5 separate regions of the Homo sapiens genome follow, and regions 1, 2, 3 and 4 are each linked to region 5. Evidence: promoter capture Hi-C in 16 types of primary human blood cells and fetal thymus (Javierre and others, 2016). All regions are on one chromosome and are shown on one strand. Each heading gives the region's core, a stretch centred on a gene start or on the middle of the fragment in contact. The rest is flanking DNA. Distances are from core to core; before and after follow the strand shown. Region 1 overlaps STIM1 (stromal interaction molecule 1). Region 2 has its middle 40 kb from the start of LINC02749. Region 3 overlaps RRM1 (ribonucleotide reductase catalytic subunit M1). Region 4 overlaps STIM1 (stromal interaction molecule 1). Region 5 holds the start of CHRNA10 (cholinergic receptor nicotinic alpha 10 subunit).

What was found. The method cuts DNA at HindIII sites, captures the fragments that hold promoters and counts their contacts. A CHiCAGO score of 5 or more calls a contact.
Region 1: a contact is called between a fragment that was not itself captured here and the fragment with the promoter of CHRNA10 in region 5, in 2 of 17 cell types (activated CD4 T cells and non-activated CD4 T cells). The highest score is 8.6, in activated CD4 T cells.
Region 2: a fragment that was not itself captured here is called in contact with the fragment with the promoter of CHRNA10 in region 5 in 2 of 17 cell types (total B cells and total CD4 T cells); the score reaches 6.5 in total B cells.
Region 3: a fragment that was not itself captured here is called in contact with the fragment with the promoter of CHRNA10 in region 5 in 2 of 17 cell types (non-activated CD4 T cells and total CD8 T cells); the score reaches 6.0 in non-activated CD4 T cells.
Region 4: a fragment that was not itself captured here is called in contact with the fragment with the promoter of CHRNA10 in region 5 in 1 of 17 cell types (total B cells); the score reaches 5.1 in total B cells.

Annotation. Positions count from the first base shown.
Region 1 is chr11:4,071,153-4,073,852 of GRCh38, forward strand. The region is part of intron 6 of STIM1 (stromal interaction molecule 1); the gene reads left to right. Among named protein-coding and RNA genes, the nearest start is that of RRM1, 22 kb to the right of the region's middle. RefSeq lists an enhancer at 1,567-1,861. The HindIII fragment of the contact is 802 bases long and covers 1,003-1,804 here.
Region 2 is chr11:4,145,723-4,148,422 of GRCh38, forward strand. It overlaps the pseudogene OR55B1P. Among named protein-coding and RNA genes, the nearest start is that of LINC02749, 40 kb to the right of the region's middle. The HindIII fragment of the contact is 2,302 bases long and covers 156-2,457 here.
Region 3 is chr11:4,124,479-4,127,191 of GRCh38, forward strand. It overlaps RRM1 (ribonucleotide reductase catalytic subunit M1), which reads left to right. Exons shown (of 19, transcript NM_001033.5): 13 at 2,206-2,355; 14 at 2,557-2,713. Among named protein-coding and RNA genes, the nearest start is that of RRM1, 31 kb to the left of the region's middle. The HindIII fragment of the contact is 4,129 bases long and covers 1-2,713 here.
Region 4 is chr11:4,050,892-4,053,621 of GRCh38, forward strand. The region is part of intron 3 of STIM1 (stromal interaction molecule 1); the gene reads left to right. Among named protein-coding and RNA genes, the nearest start is that of RRM1, 43 kb to the right of the region's middle. The HindIII fragment of the contact is 4,973 bases long and covers 1-2,730 here.
Region 5 is chr11:3,669,967-3,672,666 of GRCh38, forward strand. It overlaps CHRNA10 (cholinergic receptor nicotinic alpha 10 subunit), which reads right to left and starts at 1,418. Exons shown (of 5, transcript NM_020402.4): 1 at 1,286-1,418. The coding sequence starts at 1,346. The HindIII fragment of the contact is 7,798 bases long and covers 1-2,700 here.

The sequences.
Region 1 (2,700 bases), core at 154-2,653, 400 kb after region 5:
AAGTTAGTAGGATGCAGAAGGCAATAGAGAGTCAAATCAGGTTTTTTTGGTTGTTTTGTTTTCGAGAAGAGGAGAGGTCTATTCAAGACTGTCTTTTAGAAAATGATTCTGGAAGCCTAGGGACTCTAGTTGGGAAGTCTTTGCAGGAATTCATGTAAAAGGAAATGAAGTCTTGTCTTTTCATTTATTTCTATTTATTATTATTATTATTATTTTGACTCTGGGTCTTGCTCTGTTGCCCAGGCTGAAGTTCAATAGCATGAACATGGCTCACTGCAGCCTCCACCCCCTGGGCTCAAGAGATCCTCCTGCTTCAGCCTCCTGTGTAGCTGGGTGCATGCCACCATGCCTGGCTAATTTTTTTATTTTTTGTAGAGACAGGGGTCTTGCTGTGTTGCCCAGGCTTTTCCTGAACTCCTGGACTCAAGAGGTCTACCTCAGCCTCCCAAAGTGCTGGGATTACAGGCCTGAGCCACTGTGCCCAGCCATTGTGTTATTTTTAAATGGTAAACACTATTTAATTTGGAGGGGTAGGGACAAGACTTCTTGTGAGCCAGGTATTGTTAAATACTTAAATGCATTATTACTTTTAATCACTATGGCCCTTTGAAGTAGGTACTATTAGAGTTGGGGAAATGAAGGCTCAGAGAGGGTAAGTGCTTTGTTCAGGGTCATATATCAGTAAGTAGTGAACTAGGAATTTTGACACTCCAGGGTGCTGCCTCTACTGAGGTAGCAGACTTATTGGATTTATTTCCATGGGCTGGGCTTCTAGGGAGCAAGAGGGGTCTGATCTCTAAGCTGATTCCTGGCTACTTTGCTGGGCCCCTTGTTCTTGGGCCCTTTGCCAGTTAGGAGCTAACTGCTGCTGTCTGAGCAGTCCCCATACCTCATTTGTTTGAAAAACATGTACTGTTTCCATTCCAAAGGCAAAAGAATCTAGGCAGGAGACATTCCAAGTTTGGGGATAAAACTAAGCTCCCAGCACTCCCTGCTCCCTAAAGCTTCCAGAGCTAAATGACCACTGTGGCACTTAGAAAGAGACAAAGACACCCCTCCCCTTTTCCCCCTAGAGATAGGCTTGCACACATGCACACATATATCCTCCTCTGAGTGTCCAGAGCCCACATGCCACCTGGTTCCTCCTTGTATTAACAGACCTGCAATGCCAGCTTTCACAGAGCTTTATTACAGAGTTCCTGATAATTTATGTGAATAAATATAATTCTACATATACAGTCCAGTTAGGATTTCATTGAGTTTCAAGATAATTATTTGAGGCAGGCAGGAATTTTGATTCCCAAAACAGGCAAAACTTGCTCATAGTCACACAACTGCTTAGAGCCAGGACTAATTGCAATGCTAATTGTTGTTGCCTTGGAGTGGGGCAGTGCTTAATTGTATACTTATTTGCTCATTTCTACACCCAACAATGATTATTGTTCTCCATCTCTAACAGACCTTATTGGAACTATGAAAGGGTGTCAGTCTTGATTCTACTTTAAAGGAGCTCGCTATTATTATAAAGGACAGACATATCATAGTATTGGCTTTTCTCAAGAGGCTGCTTTCATAAAAGGACAGTATTTCAGTGAAGAAGTGAATCCTTAATGGTGTAACTTTATATAGTTGGGTCATGGAAGAGTACAGTAAAGGAGGATATTCAGCAAGGGAAGGAGATGGCAGGAAATGGCGCCTCTGATTTGTCTTTGCCTATGCATATATCGCCATCTGGTGTTCATTTTCAGGGGGTTCAACTCCCTTTCTCTTCAGGGACAAATTAGGCAGATCACAATTTGCGGGAAGCTTGCAGCCTAACATTTCCTCTTCTTACCTCCTTGCTTGTTCCATGATGTCTTTTGAAGTCTCCGCCACTGATAGCTCTGGACTTAGAGGTTTTTTTTTTTTTTTTTTTTTTACAGATTGAGTTCTGTTTGTTTCATCTACTTAATTATCTCAGTGGTCAGTGTTCTCTAGGGGTCCTTCTTGTTCTGTAGTCTATCCTTTCTTTTCTATACCTCAAGTCTAAGCTATATATCTTATCTCTTCTTCACCATCCTTTCTCCTTCCTAATCTGGTCCCCTGGTAACCTGGTGGTTTTTACTTAGAAAGGAAGACCAGACAGTAAAGTCCGTTTTCTCTTCCAAAGGGATTAGCAAACTCTCAGTCTTTGTTCTGGGTGTAGCCCAAGTCTCTCTTTCTTTCCCTGACTCCTTTCAGGCAGAGCTGATGACTCCATCTTTTGGGAAGACCCAAGACCTTATATATCTATATCTATCTCTTTCTATTATAGAATTTGTCACACTGAATACAGTTATCTGTCTACTTGTCTTTGTTGGAGTAAATCATGAGCTCCTCAGTGGCAGGGAGAGCTTTCTGATTTATCGCCACGTATTTAGGGCTTAGCACAGGGCTTGGCACTTAGTAGGCACTTGAAAGAACTCGGTGAATGAATAGATGAATGAATGAGTGTATTAACATAGATAGCCGTGTGGAGGAAAGAAGTGAAGAAGCGGGAAGGCTTGTTTAGCTGGATGGAAGGTTTTGTCGGTGAACTGAGGGAATGTGTGTGACGGTGCAAGGGTAGACTTACATTATAACTCATGCCCTTGAGATCTTATCCACTAAGGAAGATACTTAGGAAAGGAACTCAGGGCCTGGGGGCAGCAGGGGACTCTCCTGAGTCCTTTGGCATAAATT
Region 2 (2,700 bases), core at 57-2,556, 480 kb after region 5:
AACCTGACCTATGTGCCTGTACAGCTTGGGGATCTCAGGAAAGGACCTCACTTGTGTTTGGGACTGACTGGACTCTAGAACCCAGCCTGCTACCTGGATTAGACTGGAAGCCTCAAGGATGACCTGTGTATTAGGTCTGAATAAACTTCATGTCAAGCTTAGGCTATGTTTGGGAGAGACTGGGCTTCAGGGAAGTGCCCGCCTGTTTATTTGTTTCAGACTGGGTGTTGTTCAGACAGGGCAGGTTGTGGTCTGTATGACTTGCTCTATAAGACTACCTTAGTGAAGCCCCATACATCCAGATATTAGTTGGGACTTCCTCAGGAGTTGGGAGGAGGACAGAGAAAATAAACCAAGAAGGATAAATAGGTAAATGCAATTTTATTACTGGGGGTGAAAACAAAGAGCATTCTAAGAATTTAACAAGCAACAGTTGACCAACAGGGAACCTGCTGTTGAGCCCGTAATCTGCTGAGGAAATTTGAGCCTGTCCCTGAGTACTGCCTGCTTATCTCTTCTCAGAGATCATAGCCCCAACTTTCGAAGGTAGTAAAGTCCCTCACCCTGGCGGTTTCCAGTCTCATGTTCTGCAGCCTCTTTGGCTTCTCCCCAGCCTTCTGGGCTGTTTCCTTTTCACAGAGCATCTTTTCTACATGTTGCTGGATCTCCCTAGTCCTCACCCCATAAATGACAGGATTCAAGGCTCCTGGAAGCAGCAAGTATATGGCACTGAGTAGATTCTGGACATTCTGGGACACAGTCTTGGCTACTCAGAAGGTGATGGAAGTGGAAAGACCAGAGACGTAGATGGAGAGGATGACCAGTAGGTGGGAGCCACACGTGTGTAAGGCCTTGGCTTGGGCTCCCCAAGAAGAGATCCGGAAGGCAGCATAGATGATGTGGGTGTAGGAGGTCCCCAGCAGGGCCATATCAGAGATTACAGTGACCAAACACATAGCCAGCCCCAGCCAGTTGTTGAAGGTCAGGTCTCCACAAGCTATGCTCAGCAGTGCAATGCACTCACAGGTGAAGTGTCGAATCACTGCTGTCCGGCAGAATCGGGCTTTTGCAGTTAGTACTACCAAGGGCACTGTCACTCCCAGGCTCTGTGTCAAGGCAAGAATGGCCAGCAGTCCCAGCAGCTGGGAGGTCATCAGGTCAGAATAGCAGAGTGGGTGGCAGATGGCTACGTAGCAGTCCAGGGCCATGGCCAGAGGAAGTTGTAGTCCAGGAGGAGGGTGAAGTAGATAAAGAACACCTAGGCCAGGCGGCCATGCAGCGATATGGGGTTAGCATAATATACAAAGCCCTCCAGCATTTTAGGCATCACGGCTGTGGCAGCACGAATATTGACAGCCAGGAGCACAGTGATGAGCATACACGTAGGCTGATGCAGATTTTGCCGGGCAACCACTGTGTGGATGACCAGGGCATTGGCAGAGATGATGGTCACAAAGAGGAAGACAAGAGGCAGGACCAGAAGGGGCCACCACTCTCGAAGTCCAGGGAAACCCACCAGGAAGAACTTGGTGCAGGAGATGTTGAAGGTGCTTGTATTTCCATCCTCACCCATTAGCTTTGGCCCTGGGCCGGCACCAAGAGTGGGGATCAGAGACTGTTAGAACAAAATGGTCAATTTTAAAAAGACTTTTTCTGTTGTAGACACTGAGGAATTTGTGATAAAAGCCTACTTCTTCATGTATGTATTCCTTTGGGGCACAGATAAGTACTAAGCCGGGTGTTGTAGGAACTACACAGTTACCTACAATCTTTGTAGGTAACAATCTTTGTCCTCAGGGAGCTCTTGGCCTCATGTGTGTGAAATGTAAATGTAAACTTACAAGATACTTGTTTACTTGTAATGTTCCAGATATTTGCTCAGTAAAAGATTAGGAGGAGAAGTAGGTGTAGTATACACAGGGGAAAAAGAGTGACAGCCAGAGACAAAACAAGAAAGGTTAAAAGAAGACTCTTGATTCAGAGGAAGAGAAAGTATTAGAAGAATCTTTGATCCAAGGAGTCTGGGAAGGCCCAAGTGGGGCTTAACAGGGAGAGAAGAACCAGCCGGGAATGATGGCATCACTTGTGTGCTTGGGACACACTGTGGCAAGGAGAGATGGAAGTTGCTGAGGAAGAATTCTGGTCTTCCTGGATCACAAGAAACAGGCTGCAGAGACTGCTTCCTTCCTAAGTCCTCGTAGATTGGCTGTGGTGCCTGCTGCCTGGCCTTGTCCTCAGTGTCATGGATGATGAGTTTGCTTTCCTTTCAGAATGTAGGTTCCAGGAGGGCAGGGATAATAGCATGCTTCTGGTGGGCTCACTGGAGCTCCAAGCACAGAGTCACCATAGAGGCGCAGGACAGGCTTGAGAATTGCTTGTTGAGTAGGTGCATGAGGAACAGGAAGAAGACAATAGGAGGCTGAACATTTAATTGGGATCTTACAGCAGTTGTTTCAAAGCTTTGGCCAGGGGCCAGGACTGTTCTACATACCTGATACTCCACAAACTAGGCAGCATTCAACAGTCTTCAAGCTTTTTTTTTTTTTTTTTTTAAGAGGTAGGGTCTTGCTATTTTGCCCAGGCTGTTTTTGAACTCCTGGACTCAAGCAGCCCTCTTGCCTCAGCCTCCCAGGCATGAGCCACTGCGCCTGGTCACTTCAAGCATTCTGAATCTCAGCAGCAATATGAAGAGTTAGCATT
Region 3 (2,713 bases), core at 191-2,690, 450 kb after region 5:
GTAAAACACAATGTTAAGTGCTCTGAGAATATAAATAAATATGCTGCCCTCTGGAAACTTCTAATTTAGTTGGAAGACATCGACATATATTGAGGTAACTATTATGCAAGACAGATTATATTATAGAGGCTAGAGTGACATTTTTAAAATAAAAATCAGATAATGTCATTTGTCTGCACAAAACTACTCTTTGGCTTGCTAACCCATGCAGAATTCCTTTTTTTTCGGGGGGCGTCAAGATTTCACTCTGTTGCCCAAGCTGGGCTGTGGCTCACTGCAACCTCAACAGAGTTCTTTCTTTTTGCAAATTGAGCTATAATTCACTCTTTTTAAAATGTACAATTCAGTGTTTTTTTTCTTTTCTTTTCTTTTCTTTTTTTTAGTATATCTGCAAGTCTGTGCAACCATTACCACTATCTAATTGTAGTATTTATTTATTTTATTTTTTTTTTTTTGAGACAGAGTCTTGCTCTGTCACCAGGCTGGAGTGTAGTGGCTCGATCTCGGCTCACTGCAACCTCCGCCTCCTGGATTCAAGCGATTCTCCTGCCTCAGCCTCCCGAGTAGCTGGGACTACAGGCGCGTGCCACCACACCCAGCTAATTTTTGTATTTTTAGTAGGGACGAGGTTTCACTATGTTGGCCAGGATGGTCTCAATCTCTTGACCTCGTGATCCGCCCACCTCAGCCTCCCAAAGTGTTGGGATTACAGGCGTGAGCCACCGTGACCGGCCTGTAGTACATTTTTATCACTGTAGATAATGAAACCCTTTATCCATTAGCAGTCACTCCCTGTTCCCTTCTTCCCTCAGCCCTTGACAACCACTAATATATTTTCTGTCTCTAGATTTGTGGACATTGTGGACATTCCATAGGAATGGAGTCATATAATATGTGGCCTTTTGTGTCAGGCTTCTTTCACTTAACATGTTCTTTTATTCATGTTGTAGCATGTATCAGTACTTCATTCCTTTCCATCCAGAGTTCTTACAGTGCCCTACAAGGTCCTACACAACTGGATAACCCACCTCATCTGCGGTTACTTTCCCCTTTGTTCACTTTGCTCCAACCCTATTAATTTTCTTGCTTTTTCTCAAACATGTCAACCATGCTCCTACCTCAGGATTTTTGCTCCTTCTTCCCTCTTGAATGTTAAAATGCACCCCCTCTTCCCATAGCCACATGATTTGCTTTCTAACCTGTTCAGTTCTTTGTTCATATGTAACATTTTCAATGAGGTCCTTCTTGACAATTCTGTTTAAAAATTATACCCCCTTCATCTTTATCCCCAGTACTCTCTGTCTTCTTTTCCTGCCTATTTTTCTTCCTGGCATTTATTAGACTTCTGTGATTCAAGCTATATTTAAAAAAATGGGTATTTGGCAACATGTGTAGAATGGAGTAGATGTGAAGGGCATCAAGAGTTCAACTGGGAAACTTTCAGTAGTCCATGTGAGAGAAGTTAAGACTTTGGCTTGGGATAGTCATAATCAAAATGGAAAAGAAAGTGTATTCATTCAACATTATCAAGACTTACTGTGTGCCAGATGTGTTGCTAGTGCTAAACATATAAATATAAATAAGATGATCCTTGTGTGAAGAAGCTCACTGCCTCGTGTAGTGGAGAAATCACTGGAAGAGCTTTTTCAGAAATCACAAATTGAGATCCATTGTTGCTAAGGGCTTGTCAGAATATCAGTGAAGGTGAGGTGGACGTGTGTGTTTTGAAGAACTCTGCAGTGATGGAAATGTTCTGTATCTGATGGCTATTGAGCACTTGAAATATGACTAGTGCAACTGAGAAACTCAAATTTTATTTCATTTTAAATAGATATATGTAGCCAGTGGCTACCATATTGCAGGGCACTCATCTACTGAATAATGAGATAGGTATATGTAAAAAGCTAATTATAACATAGTGTGATATATGTCTGGTAATAGAGCTGTGTACTGTGGAACATAGGGTTCTCTCTCTCTCTTACCTATTTTGCTGATGCATGTTATAACTAACACATATGACTAGGTATTGAAGAAATAGAATCAGTGGGATTTAGAAATGGACTGATGAATGATGAAGAGGGAGAAGTCAAATATAAAAATTTAAAATTTTAATGTCTGAGTATTAGAGGCTCACATGGTGGTGTAATTGACACAGGAAGTAGAAATAAAAATTGTGTGATTCTTGACCTGTTTTTTGCATTCCAGGTTGCTGTTTGTAATTTGGCTTCCCTGGCCCTGAATATGTATGTCACATCAGAACACACATACGACTTTAAGAAGTTGGCTGAAGTCACTAAAGTCGTTGTCCGAAACTTGAATAAAATTATTGATATAAACTACTATCCTGTACCAGAGGTATGAATAGATTTCTCTGCTTATTGGTAATTATTGAAATCCAAATTGAAAGGAATCAATCATGATCTTCAAGTCATCATTTAAATGGTTATCAATAAAATGGTTTGAGAAAAAGAGGTAGTCTGTCTCATTTGGTACAGAATGTTGCTTTTCCTGTTCAGTAATGTTTTCTCCTTTTCTTTAAAATCTGTTGACACAAAGGCATGCCTATCAAATAAACGCCATCGCCCCATTGGAATTGGGGTACAAGGTCTGGCAGATGCTTTTATCCTGATGAGATACCCTTTTGAGAGTGCAGAAGCCCAGTTACTGAATAAGCAGATCTTTGAAACTATTTATTATGGTGCTCTGGAAGCCA
Region 4 (2,730 bases), core at 201-2,700, 380 kb after region 5:
AGAGAAAATATATTTACTGTTTATTAAGTGGAAGTGGATCATCATAAAGGTTTTCATCCTCATCTTCACATTGAGTGGGCTGAGGAGGAGGAGGAAGAAGAGAGATTAGTCTTGCTGTCTCAGGGGTGGCAGAGGCAGAAAAGATAGAGAAGGTAGGAAGGGAGGTGGGAGAAGCAGGCACACTCAGTATACCTTTTATTGAAAAAAAAATCCATGTATAAAATTCATGTATAAATGGACCCAGGAAGTTAAAACCTGCATTGTTTAAAGGTGAACGGTGTCACTGTAACTATTTTGCATCAACACACTTATAAACACAAATGCAACATGAGCACTGAAGTTGAGAGCCTGTATTCTTATATATCTAGATGATACAGAATAAACTTTTGCTTTTTACTTTTAGCTTATTTCCAAAATATAAATATAGAATCAAAACACTTTAATGGTAAATTGTCTTTTTTTTTTTTTTGAGATGGAGTATTGCTCTGTCACTCAGGCTGGAGTGCAGTGACGCAATCTCGGCTCACTGCAACCTCTGCTTCCCGAGTTCAAGCGATTTTCCTGCCTCAGCCTCCCGAGTAGCTGGGACTACAGGCATGCACCACCACGCCTGGCTAATTTCTGTGTTTTTAATAGAGACGAGGTTTCACCATGTTGGCCAGGATGGTCTTGAACTCTTGAGGTCAGATGATCCACCTGCCTTCGCCTCCCAAAGTGCTGGGATTACAGTCATGAACCACTGCCTGGCCATAAATTATCTTTTTTTATCTGTTTTGCAACAGTCTCACTCCGTCACTCAGGCTAGAGTGCAGTGGCGTGATCATGGCTCTCTGCAGGCTCAATCTCCCAGGCTCAAGTGATCCTCCCACCTCAGCCTCCTGAGGAGCTGGGACTCTAGGTGTGCACCACCACACCTGGCTAATTGTCCCTGTTTGCAGATGACATGATTGTATGTTTAGAAAACCCCATCGTCTCAGCCCAAAATCTCCTTAAGCTGATAAGCAACTTCAGCAAAGTCTCAGGATACAAAATCAATGTGCAAAAATCATAAGCATTCCTATACATCAAGAACAGACAAACAGAGAGCCAAATCATGAGTGAACTCCCATTCACAATTGCTTCAAAGAGAATAAAATACCTAGGAATCCAACTTACAAGGGATGTGAAGCACCTCTTCAAGGAGAACTACAAACCACTGCTCAATGAGATAAAAGAGGACACAAACAAATGGAAGAACATTCCATGCTCATGGATAGGAAAAATCAATATCGTGAAAATGGCCATATTGCCCAAGGTAATTTATAGATTCAGTGCCATGCCCATCAAGCTACCAATGAATTTTTTCACAGAATTGGAAAAAACTACTTTAAAGTTCATATGGAACCAAAAAAGAGCCTAAGCCAAAAGAACAAAGCTGGAGGCATCATGCTACCTGACTTCAAACTATACTACAAGGCTACAGTAACCAAAACAGCATGGTACCGGTACCAAAACAGAGATCTAGACCAATGGAGCAGAACAGAGCCCTCAGAAATAATACCACACATCTGTAACCATCTGATCTTTGACAAACCTGACAAAAACAAGAAATGGGGAAAGGATTCCCTATTTAATAAATGGTGTTGGGAAAACTGGCTAGCCATATGTAGAAAGCTGAAACTGGATCCCTTCCTTACACCTTATACAAAAATTAATTCAAGATGGATTAAAAACTTACATGTTAGACCTAAAACCATGAAAACCCTAGAAGAAAACCTAGGCAATACCATTCAGGACATAGGCATGGGCAAGGACTTCATGTCTAAAACACCAAAAGCAATGGCAACAAAAGCCAAAATGGACAAATGGAGTCTAATTAAACTAAAGAGCTTCTGCTCAGCAGAAGAAACTACCATCAGAGTGAACAGGCAACCTACAGAATGGGAGAAAAGTTTTGCAATATACTCATCTGACAAAGGGCTAATATCCAGAATCTACAAAGAACTCAAACAAAGTTACAAGAAAAAACCCCATCAAAAAGTAGGCGAAGGATATGAACAGACACTTCTCAAAAGAAGACATTTATGCAGCCAACAGACACATGGAAAAATGCTCATCGTCACTGGCCATCAGAGAAATGCAAATCAAAACCGCAATGAGATACCATCTCACACCAGTTAGAATGGTGATCATTAAAAAGTCAGGAAACAACAGGTGCTGGAGAGGACGTGGAGAAATAGGAACCCTTTTACACTGTTGGTGGGACTGTAAACTAGTTTAACCATTGTGGAAGACAGTGTGGTGATTCCTCAAGGATCTAGAACTAGAAATACCATTTGACCCAGCCATCCCATTACTGGGTATATACCCAAAGGATTATAAATCATGCTGCTATAAAGACACATGCACACGTGTGTTTATTGCAGCACTATTCAAAATAGCAAAGACTTGGAACCAACCCAAATGTCCATCAACGATAGATTGGATTAAGAAGATGTGGCACATATACACCATGGAATACTATGCAGCCATAAAAAAGGATGAATTCATGTCCTTTGTAGGGACATGGATGAAGCTGGAAACCATCATTCTCAGCAAAATATCGCAAGAACAAAAAACCAAACACCGCATGTTCTCACTCATAGGTGGGAATTGAACAGTGAGAACACTTGGACACAGGAAGGGGAACATCACACACTGAGGCCTGTTGTGGGGTGGGGGGAAGGGGGAGAGATAGCATTAGGAGATATA
Region 5 (2,700 bases), core at 168-2,667:
CCATCCCAGGCCCTAGTCCCAGGGCCTCTGCTCACACCCTCCACTCCCAGGGCTGGGGCCCTGTCCTTATGAGTGTCCTCCTGGTGTCTGCCTTCTCTTGCTCTAGCTGTGGCTCTAGTTCCTCCCTGGCCTGCCTGCAGGGACACATGAGGTAAAGGCCATGGAGTGAACTGGTACTATCTTCTGGCGCCAGGCTGACAAATTTCTCCTCCACCCTCCCCTTTTCAAGGACCTGGAGTCTGCCTGCCTCTCCACAAATGCTAGAGGGGCCCAAATAAGCCACAAGAGTCCAGACTTTCACCCAGGGATTCTAAACCCCACTGCTCTGCCCCCTCCAGTATCTCTCAAACCTGTTTCCACTTCTCCATCTCGAGCTGGTTTCTTCAAAACTTCTGATGCGATGGAACACTCCCTCACTCTGAAAACACACTTCCCCAGGCTTTACTGACACAAATTTTCCTCAATCCCTGACCTAAACATTGTTCCCATGAATCCTGTCCTTGGCTCCCATCTTTTTCTTCATCCCAGATTTTTCTCCTGAGCTCCAGACCCCAATAGAGTACAGTCCACTCCTGAGTTTCCCACAGGCACCTTCAACTCTGAGGGTCCAAAATATGAACTCGCTTCCTCCCTCCATGCTCTGAAACCTGCTTCCTATCCCATGTTCCCTATCTCAGCAAATAGCATGCCCTCAGCTTCAACAGTGACCTTAGTTGGAAATCTGGGAATTATCCCTCCCTTCTCCCTCTGCTGCCTCCTCCTCGGGGAATCCAGTTAATCTCCAGATCCTGTCAGATCATTCAAATCCTCCAGATTTTGCGAAACATCGTCTTGAGTCTACCCTCTCCCCTCCAGGTCAGGGCCCTCCCTTCACTGTCTCCCTTTCCCCAAAGGCTCACCTTCTTCTACCCCTCCCATGCCCCAGGACCACGCTTTTAAGCATGCACATCTGACCAGGCTAGTATGCTGCTGAAACCTTTCAGTGCTCCCCGTCATCTGCAGGAGAAAGACCTGGCCTGGCCGGCAGGCCCTTCAACATCTGGCCCCTCTGATTTTCCCAGCCCTGTCTCTGGAAGCTCCCCGCTCACTGTTTCCACCCTAGCCAGGCAAGTCTCCTCTCACGCACTTCAGCACCCCTCTCCTCCACACTCCCCAAATAGAGAGCTTGTTCTCAGAACAGGTACTGAGGAGAAACACAAGAGAGACTACATGGAAAGGGATTTTGGGAGAACAGGAATAGTAGCACCACCAGGAGAGGCCAGGGCTGGTGTACTGAGCTTCATACCTGCAGGGAGTAGAAACAGAAGCAGAAGGCCCAGGCTGAGGTGGTGGCTCCGGAGCCCCATGGCCCTGGCACTGCAAGAGCGGGGGCAGGTCTCTGGATGTGAGGCCTCCTGGCCAGACCTAGGGCAAAATTAGGCCCAGCTGGCAAGGATGGTGTGGACAGTACCTAGAAGTCAGAAGTAAGACAGATCTCTGGTGGGTCCAGCCACCCTCCAGCGAGCCCTGCAGCCCCTCCAGTCTTCTGACCCTCCAATTTGTGCCTGCCCCTGGATTTTAGTACTTGGTCTTTCTTCTTCTCTGCTGGTCCTTGCCTCTTCTGGCCTCTGCCTCTGCCCTTTCCTATGCTCCCCACCTGCTTTGTCTTTCACTCTGTTTCTGCTTCCTTCTCTTTCCGTCTGTAACTTTCTTGGTCTCTCTGCCTCCCTGACTCTGATCATCCCCTGCCTGCCTCTTTCCACTCTCTCTCCCTTTCTCCTACTTCTGTTTCATCCCTCATTCCTTCCTTCTTCCATTCCCCACACCTGGACTCTAGATGGGCCTGCTGCTCTCTCAGCAGAACAGGGACCAGGGACTCCTCCCTTGATCAGCCCAGAGTCGTCCGAGGCACAGGACCACAGCCCCTCCCTCTCTGCCCTTTCATTAGCTTAATTACACCGTGCCTATGACAACAGAGCAACGGAAACTGATACCTCGGGCCTCTGGGGCTTGAATTATTCAAACTCTGTAAAGCAGCACACAGACTCAGCTCAGGCCCATCCTCGGGTGTTGGAGAGTACAGGTATGCTGGGTCAGGGTATGTGGAAGACCAGGGCTTAAGAGTGTGAGGGGCCAGGGTCAGTGGATGGATAACTGTCCTCTCATCTTAGCCACCATTGCCTGAATTCTGGAGGTGGAGGTTTGCCTTAGACCTGCAGCTCTCCTTGCAGTGCGGGACTAGACACTCCAGGCTAGGCACTTTGGGTCAAGCAAGCCCTTCCCTCCTGGTGGGAGTAGTGCTGAGCCTCAGGCCACTCCAGATGACCCAGTGGAGCAGAAGATGGAGCCCACATCCTCTCCTCAGACTCCCTGCAGTCATTCCCATCTGAGCCTGTTTTTTCACCTTGCCCAAACACTGTGGGCAGTGTGGGAGAAGAGGGCAAGCATTCAGTCACTTTCGGCCCTGTCTTATGAGCGCTCTCACTTGGGTAAGATATTTAAACTCTCTGGGTTTCTGTTCTCTCAATCTGGTAATGGGATTAACAGTACTCATCTTGAAAACTGCAAGGATTTAAATGAGATAACCTGATAGTGCAAGGCACTGTCTAGCACGGTGCCTAAGGTACAGCAGGTCATCAACAATATTTACACTGTGGTCCCAGTAAGGTAGCCAGGCTATCCTCAGGTCACAGGTATTTATCATGCACAGAGTTTTGATTA